2 separate regions of the Homo sapiens genome follow, and region 1 is linked to region 2. Evidence: promoter capture Hi-C in human tissues and cell types (Jung and others, 2019). All regions are on one chromosome and are shown on one strand. Each heading gives the region's core, a stretch centred on a gene start or on the middle of the fragment in contact. The rest is flanking DNA. Distances are from core to core; before and after follow the strand shown.

Region 1 (5,651 bases), core at 3,152-5,651, 49 kb before region 2:
AGTTATAAGAAATAACACAGACAGATCTCATGTCCTTTACCAAGTTTTCTCTAATGGAAACATCCAGAAAAGCAGTATATCATAAATGGGATATTGACATTGTCAAGATTCAGTTAAGATTCAGAAGGCTAGCATCATCACAAGGATCACTGCTGTTGCTTTTTTATAGCCACCTCCTCTTCCTGCCTCTTCAAACTGTGGCAACCACTAATCTGTTCTACATTTCTATAAGTTTGTCATTTCCACGCTGCTATACAAATGAAATCATATAGTATGTAACTTTTGAAGATTGACCTTTTCACTCAGCACCATACTCTGGTGATTAATTCTGGTTATTGTGTGTAACAATAGTTCATCCCTTCTTATTTCTGAGCAGTGTCGTGGTATAAGAATATCACAGTCGAACCACTCACCTGTTGAGGGGAGTCTGGGCTGTTTCCACTTTTTGATGACTATGAGAAAAGCCACTATAAATATTCATGCACAGATTTTAATGCAAACATAAGTCTATTTCTCTGGGATAAATGTACAGGACCCCAATCACTGAACCATATAGTAACTGCCTATTTAGTTTTGGACCAAAAAAAAAAAAAAAGCCAAATTCCTTTCCTGTTTGTATGGCTATATCATTTTGCACTCTTAACAACAATGCATAAATGATGCAGTTTGCAGTTTCCCTATATCCCTGCTAGCATTCTGTGTTGTCACTACTTTTATTTTAGTCATTCACATAGATATATAGTGATACCTCATTGTAGCTCATATGTGCATTTCCTTAATGGATAATGATGTTTTACATTTTTTGTCATGTGTTTATTTGACATCTGTATTTTTCCTCAGTGAAATGTCTCTCTATTTTCTAATTGAATTGTTAGTTTGTTCATTTTGATTTGTTTTATTGTGACAAAAACACTGAACATGAGATCTACTCTCTTAATACATTTATACGTGTATAACATATTATTGTTGACTATAGGTACAATGTTGTAGGCTGTATAGAAATGCTCTTGAGCGTTTTCATCTTGCTTGACTGTAATTTATGCCTTATGGTTAGTAAAACTTCAATTTTTTTCTCAGCCTCTGGTAATTAACATTCCACTCTTTGATTTTATAAATTTGTCTACCTCATATAGGTGGAATCATGTAGCATGTATCTTTCTATAACTGGCTTATTTTGCTTAGCGTAATGTCCTCAAGGTTCATCTATGTTGTTAAATGTTGCATAACTTTCTTATTTTTTAAGAATAAATGGTATTTTATTGAATGAATATACCACATTTTTTTCATTCATTCATCTGTTGATGGACATTTAGGTTGTGTCCATATCTTGGCTATTGTTAATAATGCTGCAATGAACATATGGATGCTAATATCTTATTGAAATCATTATTTCCTTATCCTTTTGGATAAATACCCAGAAATAGAATTGCTGGACGATAGGTAGTTTTATTTTAAATGTTTCAAGAATATTCATGTTGTTTTCCATAACAGCTGTGCCATTTTGCATTCCCACTAAGAATGTGAAAGGGCTTCAATTTCTGCATATCTTCACTAACACTGGCCTTTTATGTTTTGTTAATAGCCATCCTGACAGGTGTGAAGTGATATCTCATTATGGTTTAATTTGCATTTTCCTAATGGTTAATAATGTGAAGCATCTTTTCATATACCTGAGGGGCATTTACATGCCTTTTTAGGGAAATTTCTATTAAACTTCTTAGCTCATTTTTATTATTTTTAAATTTATTTATTTCAATACTTTTTTAGGTACAGGTGGTTTTGGTTATATGGATAAGTTCTTTAGTGGTGATATCTAAATTTCTGGTACACCTATCACCCGAGCAGTGTGCACTATATCCAATATGTAGTCTTTTATCCCTGACCCCTTTCCCACCCTTTCCCTCAAGTCCTCTAAGTCCATTGTATCATTTTAATGCCTTTTAATCCTCATAGCTTAGCTCCTATTTATAAGTGAGAACGTAAGACATTTGGTTTTCCATTCCTGAGTTACTTCACTTAGAGTGGCCCCCCAACTCCATCCAGGTCGCTGCAAACGCCATTATTTTGTTTTGTTTCATGGCTGAGTACTATTCCATGATGTATATATACCACATTTTCTTTATCTACTCATTAATTGGGCAATAAGTTGGTTGGTTATTTTTGCAATTGCAAATTGTACTGCTATAAACACAAGTATGCATGTGTCTTTTTCATAAATGACTTCTTTTCCTTTGGGTAGATACCCAGTAGTGGGATTACTGAATTGAGTGGTAGTTCTTTAAGGAATCTCCATACTGTTTTTTATAGTGGTTGTACTAGTTTACATTTTCACCAGCAGTGTAAGAGTGTCCCGTTTACCACATCCACACCGATATCTATTATTTTTTGACTTTTTAATATGGCCATTCTTTCAGGAGTAAGGTGATACCTCATTGTGGTTTTAATTTGCACGTCCCTGATAATTAGTGATATTGAACATTTTTTCATGTTTGTTTTTAGCCCATTTTTAAATCAAGTTATTAGGGGTTTTTTACTTTTATTTTTATTTTTTATTTACTTTTTAGTATTGAGTTATATTAGTTCCTTATATATTTTAGAGATTAACCCCTTATTAGGGAAATCATTTATAAGTATTAACTCTCATTCAGTGGGCTGCCTTTTCACTCTGTTGATTGTTTCCTTTGCTGTGCAGAAGTTTTAGCTTTATATACTCCCATTTGTTTATTTTTTCTTTTTGTTGCCTGTGCTTTTAGTGTCATATTTATGTAATCATTGCCAAGACCAGTATCATGAAGATTTTACCCTACCTTTTCTTTCAGGAGTTCTATAGTTTCAAGACTTACATTTAAGTCTTTAAACAATTTTGAGTTGATTCTTGGGTATGGCATAAGGGTCTTATTTCATTATTCTGCAAGTGAAAAGCAGTTTTCCCAGCACTATTTGTTAAAGAAGCTGTCTATTCTCCATTGTATATTTTTGGCACCCTTGTCAAAGACCAGTTAACTACATATACATGGGTTTATTTCTGGACTCTCTATTCTGTTTCATTCATCTATGTCTGTTTTTATGCCAGTACCATACTCTTAATTATTGTAGCTTTTTACTGTATTTTAAAATCAGGAAGTGTGATTCCTTCAGCTTTGTTCTTCTTTGTCAATATTGATTTGACTATTTGTGGTCTTTTCTGATTCCATATAAATTTTAGAATTGATTTTTCTATTTCTGTAAAAAATGTCATTGGGATTTTAATAGGGATTTCATTGACCTTGTACATCACTTTGGGTAGTATTCACATTTTAACAATATTAAATCTTCTAATCCATGAACACAGAATATTTTTCCATTTGTTTGTGGCTTCTTTAATTTCTTTTATCAATGTTTTGTAGTTTTCAGTGTATGAGCTTTTCACCTCCTTGGTTACATTTATTTTTATATATTTTATTATTTTTGATGTGATTGTAAAAGGAATTATTTTCTTAATTTCTTTTTCAGATAGTTTATTGTTTACAATTTCTAAACCGACTTTTATGTTTTGAGTTTTATTCTGTAACTTTGCTGATTGGTTTACTAGTTCTAACAGTTTTTTATGGAGTGTTCAGAGTTCTCTGTATTTAAGATTATGTCACTTGCAAACAAAGAAAATTTTACTTCTTCCTTTCTTATTTAGATGCCTTTTACTAGGACTTCCAGTACTATCTTAAATAGAAATAGTGAGAGCGATTATCTTTGCCTTGTTCATAAACTTAAAGGAAAAGCTTTTAGTTTCACCATTAAATATGATGTTAGCTGTGGGCTTTTCATACATGTACTTTATCACGTTGAAGCAATATCCCTCTGTTCTTAGTTTGTTGATGGTTTTTATCATGAAAGAGTGCTGAATTCTGTCCATTTTTTTTCAGAATCTATTGAGATGATGATTTAGTTCTATCTTTTTTTGTGTCAATGTGTTGTATCACATTTATTGATCTGCATATGTTGAACCATCCTTGCATCCCAGGGATAAATTCTGCTTGTTTGTGGTATATAATCATTTTAATGTGCTGCTGGATTCAACATGCTAGTATTTTGTTGAGGAGTTTTGCATCTATATTCAATAAGAATATTAAGGATATTAGGCCCTCTATATTCAGATAGATAGATAGATAGATAGATAGATAGATAGATAGAGATATATTTTGTCTCTCTTGATAGACATATCTATCTATCTATCTATCTATCATCTATCTATCTATCTATTGAGAGAATTATCGCCTGGCTTTGGTGTCAGGGTAATGCTGACTTTGCGAAGGTGTTTAGAAATGTTCCCTCCTCTTAAATTTTTTGAAACAGTTTGAGAATAATTGGTATTAATTATTTAAATATTTGATTTAATTCATCAGTGAAGCCATCTGGTCTTGGGATTTTCTTTGTTGAGAGGTTTATTTCTGATTCAGTCTCCACAGTAGTTATAGGTCTGTTTGGACTTTCTTCATGATTTGGTCTTTGCAAGTTGTCTGTTTCTAGGAATTTATCTATTTTCTCTAGATATTCTAGTTTATTGGCATATAATTATTTGTAATCTTTTCTTGTGATCTCTTTTATTTCTTTGACAACAGTTCTAATGTTTCTTCTTTTATTTTTGAATTTATTATTTGAAAATAGAAGGCGAAGGTGAAGATGTTAAAGATACTTTATTTCATGCAGTATACATATATAAAAATATGATTCATTCAGGCTTTCAGTCATACAAAGTCAATCACCTTTCCAATATTCATTTACCGTTTCTTCAAAAAATAAAATGTAATACAGTCATAATATATAATGTAGTCCATCTTGTTTTACAATGAGTAACCATCTTATTTTAGTGCCTCAACACCATGAACTGAAAGTCCTTTTATTTTCAATAGGGATTTTGAAAAAGTATAATAGTCATAGAAATTCTCTTTCTTCCTTTAACCTGACTTACTATGTTGTATAGGAAAAAAATTGACAGAGTGCTTTTATGACAAGAGGGAGGTGAAGGCAGTAGTGGGAGCAGTGGCAGTGGTGGGTGGTCATGGTGGTGGTGATTATGGGCTTTTATAGATATTTCTCTGGAAGGTACAACAGAAGACAAAGTACCACTCTTCATGCTTCAGCCTCACTTCTCTTTTCATTCTGCCAGCTACACAGACATCATGTTTCCAGAAAGCAGTCAGAGAACTATTGGAGTAATCGTCAGTGGCAGCTCCATGTTCCCCTTAACTTCTCTTTAGGATCAGGGCTTAGTTTAGGATGTTCTTGATACTAAATTTTTTTCTGCTAGACACATTGTTTCATTGAATTAGATAAATCTCAATATGGAGGAATCTTTATATACGACCCCAGTCAAAACCCTCATTCCAAAATCAAAATAAGATTAGTCACATAATAAATTAGAAAGAATGTCACTTGTATATCTTTGACTCTTTTTTCCAGTAAGTTGCACTCAGTGACAAGTGAGAATTTGAGAAAGCAATTGAGTATAGTTATTCCAGAAAAAGTGGGCATTCACCTAGTCTGCCAATTTCATTGAATCAACCCTAGGGAATAATAGACCCGTGAGTCTGAATATGAGTGAATATAGATTTTCCGGCTTTGGATATCTTAATTCTCACCGACTTATTTATGCAGAGCTTGCTAATGAAGCATGA
Region 2 (5,621 bases), core at 665-3,164:
ATACTTCTGGAAGGAAAAAGATGCCTCTGAACAGTTGAAATGTAGCAGAAAGCTGATCATAGAGAAAAGTGGAACAATCATCTGCAAGTAGATTTGGAAACCAAAGATACTCGTACTGAATGTGGTTACTAAAGAGGCTCACACCAAAAGGCCTCAAGAGGAAGCCCCGGGTTATAATAGACATGGTCCTCTATAATATTCCCTTAGGTAAGAGAACAGAAAAATGGTCTTCTTATTGGGAAATGACTGCTCACTAAGAAGAGTAGATACAGTAAGTGAAAGGGAAACAGAATGGAGAAAGAGTTGATAGGAGATAAGAAAAGATTAAGTCATGTGATTCATGTATGACTGTCAGAGAGTAAGAAACTTGTAAGGTCTAAGAAGACAAAGAACCAAAGGGACCTTTAAAGTAGAGTCCAAAGGGTTGTGGATTATTTTAGGAACCACTTATAATTCAGACCTTTTTTCTACTGTGTCTTCTGACTGTCAGTGATAAGTTAGACTCTGCCATGAGAATGCTTAATCTTAGCCTAAACAAAACCTAATTAGAGTGGAAAGTCTGTTAACCTCCATGCTCAAAAATCAAATGCTATACAGTGCTGAATAACAAAGGAAAACAAAAATCATTTATATACTAAGCACTTTTTTGATGATTAACTCATCCATCTAACATTCACCAGGAATTATTACCTTCTTAAAGTGCTCCATATTATTACTCTGAAAAATACAAAAATATAAGACTTATGGTCTCTTTCTTGAAGCACTAAGCATTGATAAATGAAAAGAGTATACAATTCAAGTCAAATCTCTTTGCTTCTAGTCACAAATATGCCACTTCCAAGACATAATTTTATTTCTAAAATAAGTAATCACACTTGTCCTACCCATTTCGCAACCGTCCCATTCACTTTATATTTATGCTGTGAAGAGTAAAATCAATAAACATTTGAAATAATTTGGAAAAATATAAACCCCACAAATGCTAGTTATTAAATATGTTGACATATGGGGCAGGGAAAACAGTAGCTCAATATACTACAGGGCTGAAACAATGTGTTAAATATAGGGACTAACAACATGCTATAGAAATCAGAGGACTATGAGATTAAATCAGATGTAGCATTATTGAAAAATTTATACAATTATTAAATGCCACTTATTTTCTTTGAATGCTGAGCTGGGAATTAACAAAATAGACACAATCTCAATTGCCACCTGCACTATGCTTGTATAGTCTGCTTATCAAAACCATCCACAGATTTAATTAATTACTATTAATCCTAAGAGTCCTAGGCTACCCTATCTTTCTTCTTTCCCTCTTCTCAGAGCAGAAATAATGACACATGTTTTTTTAACTTTCTTTTAAAATTCTAGGACCTAAATATATTCTCCAAGAAGGGTTAATGACTTTGGGCTTCTCCAACAATTGCAAGTGATTGTCCAAGTTTTGTCCTAAAATTACTTGGAAATCAATTCTTGATATTTACGCAGTAAATATTTATAGACCATACATTGTGTGGAAGTTTCTGTGTTGGACCCTGACTCTATTAGCCACTTAAAAGTTTTCTCTGTGTTCAGAAGCTCATCCAAATAAAGCTCACCTAATGCATCTGAACCTCCTTTATCTGAGCATCAACTGGAGTGTTTCCTCCCATATTATACCACATGCTCATAAAATCCTTTTAAAAATAGGCCAGAGCAAGCCTTCTTGTCATATACATAGTGATGTCATATACTAAGTCATCACTAATTAGCTGCTGAATAAAGGAAAAAATGAATGGATGAAAAATGAGAAAAACACATTACCTACATATACATAGTTTTGCTAAACTACAAGAAAAAGCAGTTGGTAATTGTAATTCTGATGATTTATCTTAGTCATCACAATTTTCCTTTGATGGTATCAAAAGATAATGGTGTTGAATGTTTATTGTTGTTTCTTTCAAATTTCAGACATTCAAACGATGAAGATCAACCAGACAATCCTGAAGGAATTCATTCTTGTTGGCTTTTCTGTGTACCCACATGTACAGACATTTCTTTTTGTGGTCTTCTTTTGTCTCTACCTTCTCACCCTTGCAGGTAATCTGATCATCATGGGTCTAACTTGGGTGGACAGGTCCCTCCACACCCCTATGTATCTCTTCCTTAGTGCACTCTCCTTCTCTGAGACCTGCTATACGCTGACCATCGTCCCCAAGATGCTGGAAGATCTACTGGCCAAGGACAGAAGCATTTCAGTCACAGGTTGTAGCTTACAGATGTGCTTCTTCTTGGGACTTGGTGGCACAAACTGTATCATTCTCACTTTGATGGGATATGACCGCTTCCTGGCCATCTGTAACCCTCTAAGATATCCACTGCTTATGACCAACATTGTATGTGGACAACTTGTGGCCTCTGCTTGCACTGCAGGCTTCTTTATCTCTCTTACAGAGACTGCACTGATATTCAGGGACTCTTTCTGCAGACCCAACCTTGTCAAACACTTCTTCTGCCATATGCTGGCAGTTATTAGGCTGTCTTGTATAGACAGTAACCACACAGAATTCATTATAACACTGATCTCAGTGTCTGGTTTGCTGGGTACCCTTCTGCTCATCATCCTGACTGATGTCTTCATTATTTCTACTGTCCTCAGGATCCCTTCAGCTGAGGGCAAGCAGAAGGCCTTCACCACCTGTGCCTCCCACCTCACCGTGGTTATAATCCACTTTGGTTTTGCATCTATTGTTTATTTGAAGCCAGAAGCCTCAGGAGATGACACACTCATAGCAGTCCCTTATACTGTCATTACCCCCTTCCTCAGCCCCATCATATTCAGCCTGAGGAATAAGGACATGAAAAATGCTTTTAGAAGAATGATGGGAAACACAGTTGCCTTGAAAAAATAATCTTGGGTTGTTGCTGCTTGTTTGAAGAAGGGCTCAATGTCCCCAGAATTCAATAGGGGCATTTATCCTGTGACCCCTGGAGAAACTTGTACCATTTGCCTTGTTCCAGAGGTTGGGATGTAAGAAGCAAGTGACACAGACTGGGAACTAAGTAGCCACAGGCATCTACTTAGCTTGTTAGAGAAGCTGTCCAACCCTTCTACTATCCAGTATCAGAAGAAGAATGTCCCTGCAGATAAAAGATTCTGATAATCAACTTCCGGGTGTCCTGCAGTATTCATGAATTGAGTAAAAAGTGTGGAAGGAAAAAACAGCATATAAATCCACTGCACTGAGTGATGTTTTAAATATCTAAAGATGTCAACCATGGCTCAGGCTTGTAATCCCAGCACTTTGGGAGGCCGAGGTGGGCAGATCACTTGAGGCCAGGGGTTTGAGACCGGCCTGGCCAACATGGTAAAACCCCATCTCTACTAAAAATACAAAAATTAGCTGGGCATGGTGGTGGGTGCCTGTAATCCCAGCTACTCGGGAGGCTGAGGCAGGAGAATAGCTTGAACCCAGGAGGCAGAGTGAGCAGAGACCATGCCATTGCACTCCAGCCCAGGTGACAAGAGCAAAACTCCATCTCAAATAATAATAATAATAATAATAATAATAATAATAATAATAATAGACGTAAAAGTTAAGGATTTTTTTTAGGCAAATGTTATGAAGCACTGAAATGCACCTCCCATGAGACAAATCATTTCTGATAAGAGATGTAAGAGTATTGATGTAATTTTGAGTTCTGTTACTTATGGGAATGTTATGAAATAAATGAAATAGTGGATAAATTTATTATGCACATTAACTGATTAAGTTTACCCCTGACCATGACACTCTTTCTTTGGGATTATTTTCATGATACAGGTGCAGACAAAAATCTCTGCTACCTTCAATCTGCAGCCATTCCTTAGTGGCAAGCATTTTCTTTTGCTTTGGTTCCACTCCCGACAATTGGTTATTCAATCTAGGGAAGCTAAAAGTCTCAAAAATAAATACTATTTACTCCCTTATTATGGATGCAGAGGATGTTACGTCAAGTCTAGACTCAAGATCCTGAACCTAAATTTGGACCAATTAGCCTGCTTGTGCCTGATATAGTGACTGTGGCGGGGATTGCTAGTTGCCAGAAATAAGTGAGTAAATGGAAGCTGAAAATACCCAAAGACTCATACCCATATGGGCACTTGCTTTATGACAAGTAAAGCATTTCAGTACAGTGAGAAAATGATAGACTTTCAATATAACTGGTGCTAGGAAAATAGCATATCCATATGAGAAAAACAAAATCTGAAAAAAAAAATCAATTTCTGGAAATCGAAAACTAAATTTGAAAAGTGAAGCAATAAAACTTTAAAAGGTAATGAAGAAGATATCTTCACCAACTTGAGATAGAAAAGACTGTTTAAACTGTATGTAAAATTTTTAACTAAAATGAAAAAGGCTGATTAAATCAAAATTGAGACATTTTATTCATCAAAAAGACGCTATTGAGAGAGTGGAAAAGAAAGCCAAATCATATAGCTATAAAGAAATTTCAGAGACTGATAAGTATGAAATTTAGGATCATAATTACTTTTAGAAGGAGGGTCTGTGAGTGGGCAGGATGAGGGGCACATGAAAAACTCCTGATGGGCAAAGTTCTTTTCCTTGGTCTAGGTAGTAACTGCAAAGGCTTTTGCCCGTGAAAGATTCACTAAGCTATGTATTTGTTTAAATAATTTTCTGTGCTTACATTTTATTTTCTAATGTAAGGATTAAACAAAGCAATGCACAGAAAGATAAAAAAGTCTCTAACATGTAACTGGCAAAGGCCCTCATTTGGTATATGCAGTCATGCGTCACTTAACAATAAGGATGTATTCTGAGAAATGTGTCACTTTGTGATTTTGTCAATGTGTAAACATCACAGAATGTACTTACAAAAACCTACAATGCACATAGACTGTATGATATAGCCTAATGTTCCTAGGCTACAAATGTGTACATTATGTTACTGTACTGAATACTGTAGGCAGTCCTAACACAGTAGTGTTTATGTATCTAAACATATCTAAGCATAGAAAAGGTACAGTAGAAATACCGTTTTATACTCTTGTGAAACCATCATTGTCTTTGTGGTCTGTCATTGACCAAAACATTATTGTGTGGTATATGGCTGTATAAATAATTTCTAAAAGAAATAAAATTCTCAAAAAATAAATTAAAAGACAATAGAAAAATTTCTAAGAGATGCAAATAGATCCTTTATAAAAGAGAATATCCAAATGTTCAATAAATACCTTAAAAGGTGCTTGGTCTCATTAGTAAGCATGAAAATGAACATTAAAACCCCAGTGAGGTACTACCACATACTCACTTGAATGGCTAAAATTAAAAGGCTAGATTAACGAGTGTCAAAAAAGAAACATGAAGCAACAAGAACTCTTCAGTGCTCCTTTTTTTTTTTTTTTTTGTGAGTTGAGTCTTGCTCTGTCACCCAGGCTGGAGTGCAATGGTGCGATCTCGGCTCACTGCAACCTCCACCTCCCAGGTTCAAGCGATTCTCCTGCCTCAGCCTCCCAAGTAACTGGGATTACAGGCACCTGCCACCACGCCTGGCTTATTTTTGTATTTTTAGTAGAGACAGGGTTTCACCATGTTGGCCAGGCTGGTCTCGAACTCCTGACCTCAGGTGATCCA

What was found. Contacts are between HindIII fragments. The study calls those that stand out against the background at their distance.
Region 1: a contact is called between a fragment that was not itself captured here and the fragment with the promoter of OR10X1 in region 2, in 3 of the 25 tissues and cell types used here (adrenal gland, heart left ventricle and psoas muscle).

The regions. Positions count from the first base shown.
Region 1 is chr1:158,627,704-158,633,354 of GRCh38, reverse strand. It overlaps SPTA1 (spectrin alpha, erythrocytic 1), which reads left to right. Exons shown (of 52, transcript NM_003126.4): 40 at 5,632-5,651. Among named protein-coding and RNA genes, the nearest start is that of OR10Z1, 25 kb to the right of the region's middle. The HindIII fragment of the contact is 6,302 bases long and covers 1,251-5,651 here.
Region 2 is chr1:158,576,192-158,581,812 of GRCh38, reverse strand. It overlaps OR10X1 (olfactory receptor family 10 subfamily X member 1), which reads left to right and starts at 1,914. Exons shown (of 1, transcript NM_001004477.1): 1 at 1,914-2,894. The coding sequence starts at 1,914. The coding sequence ends at 2,894. The HindIII fragment of the contact is 15,386 bases long and covers 1-5,621 here.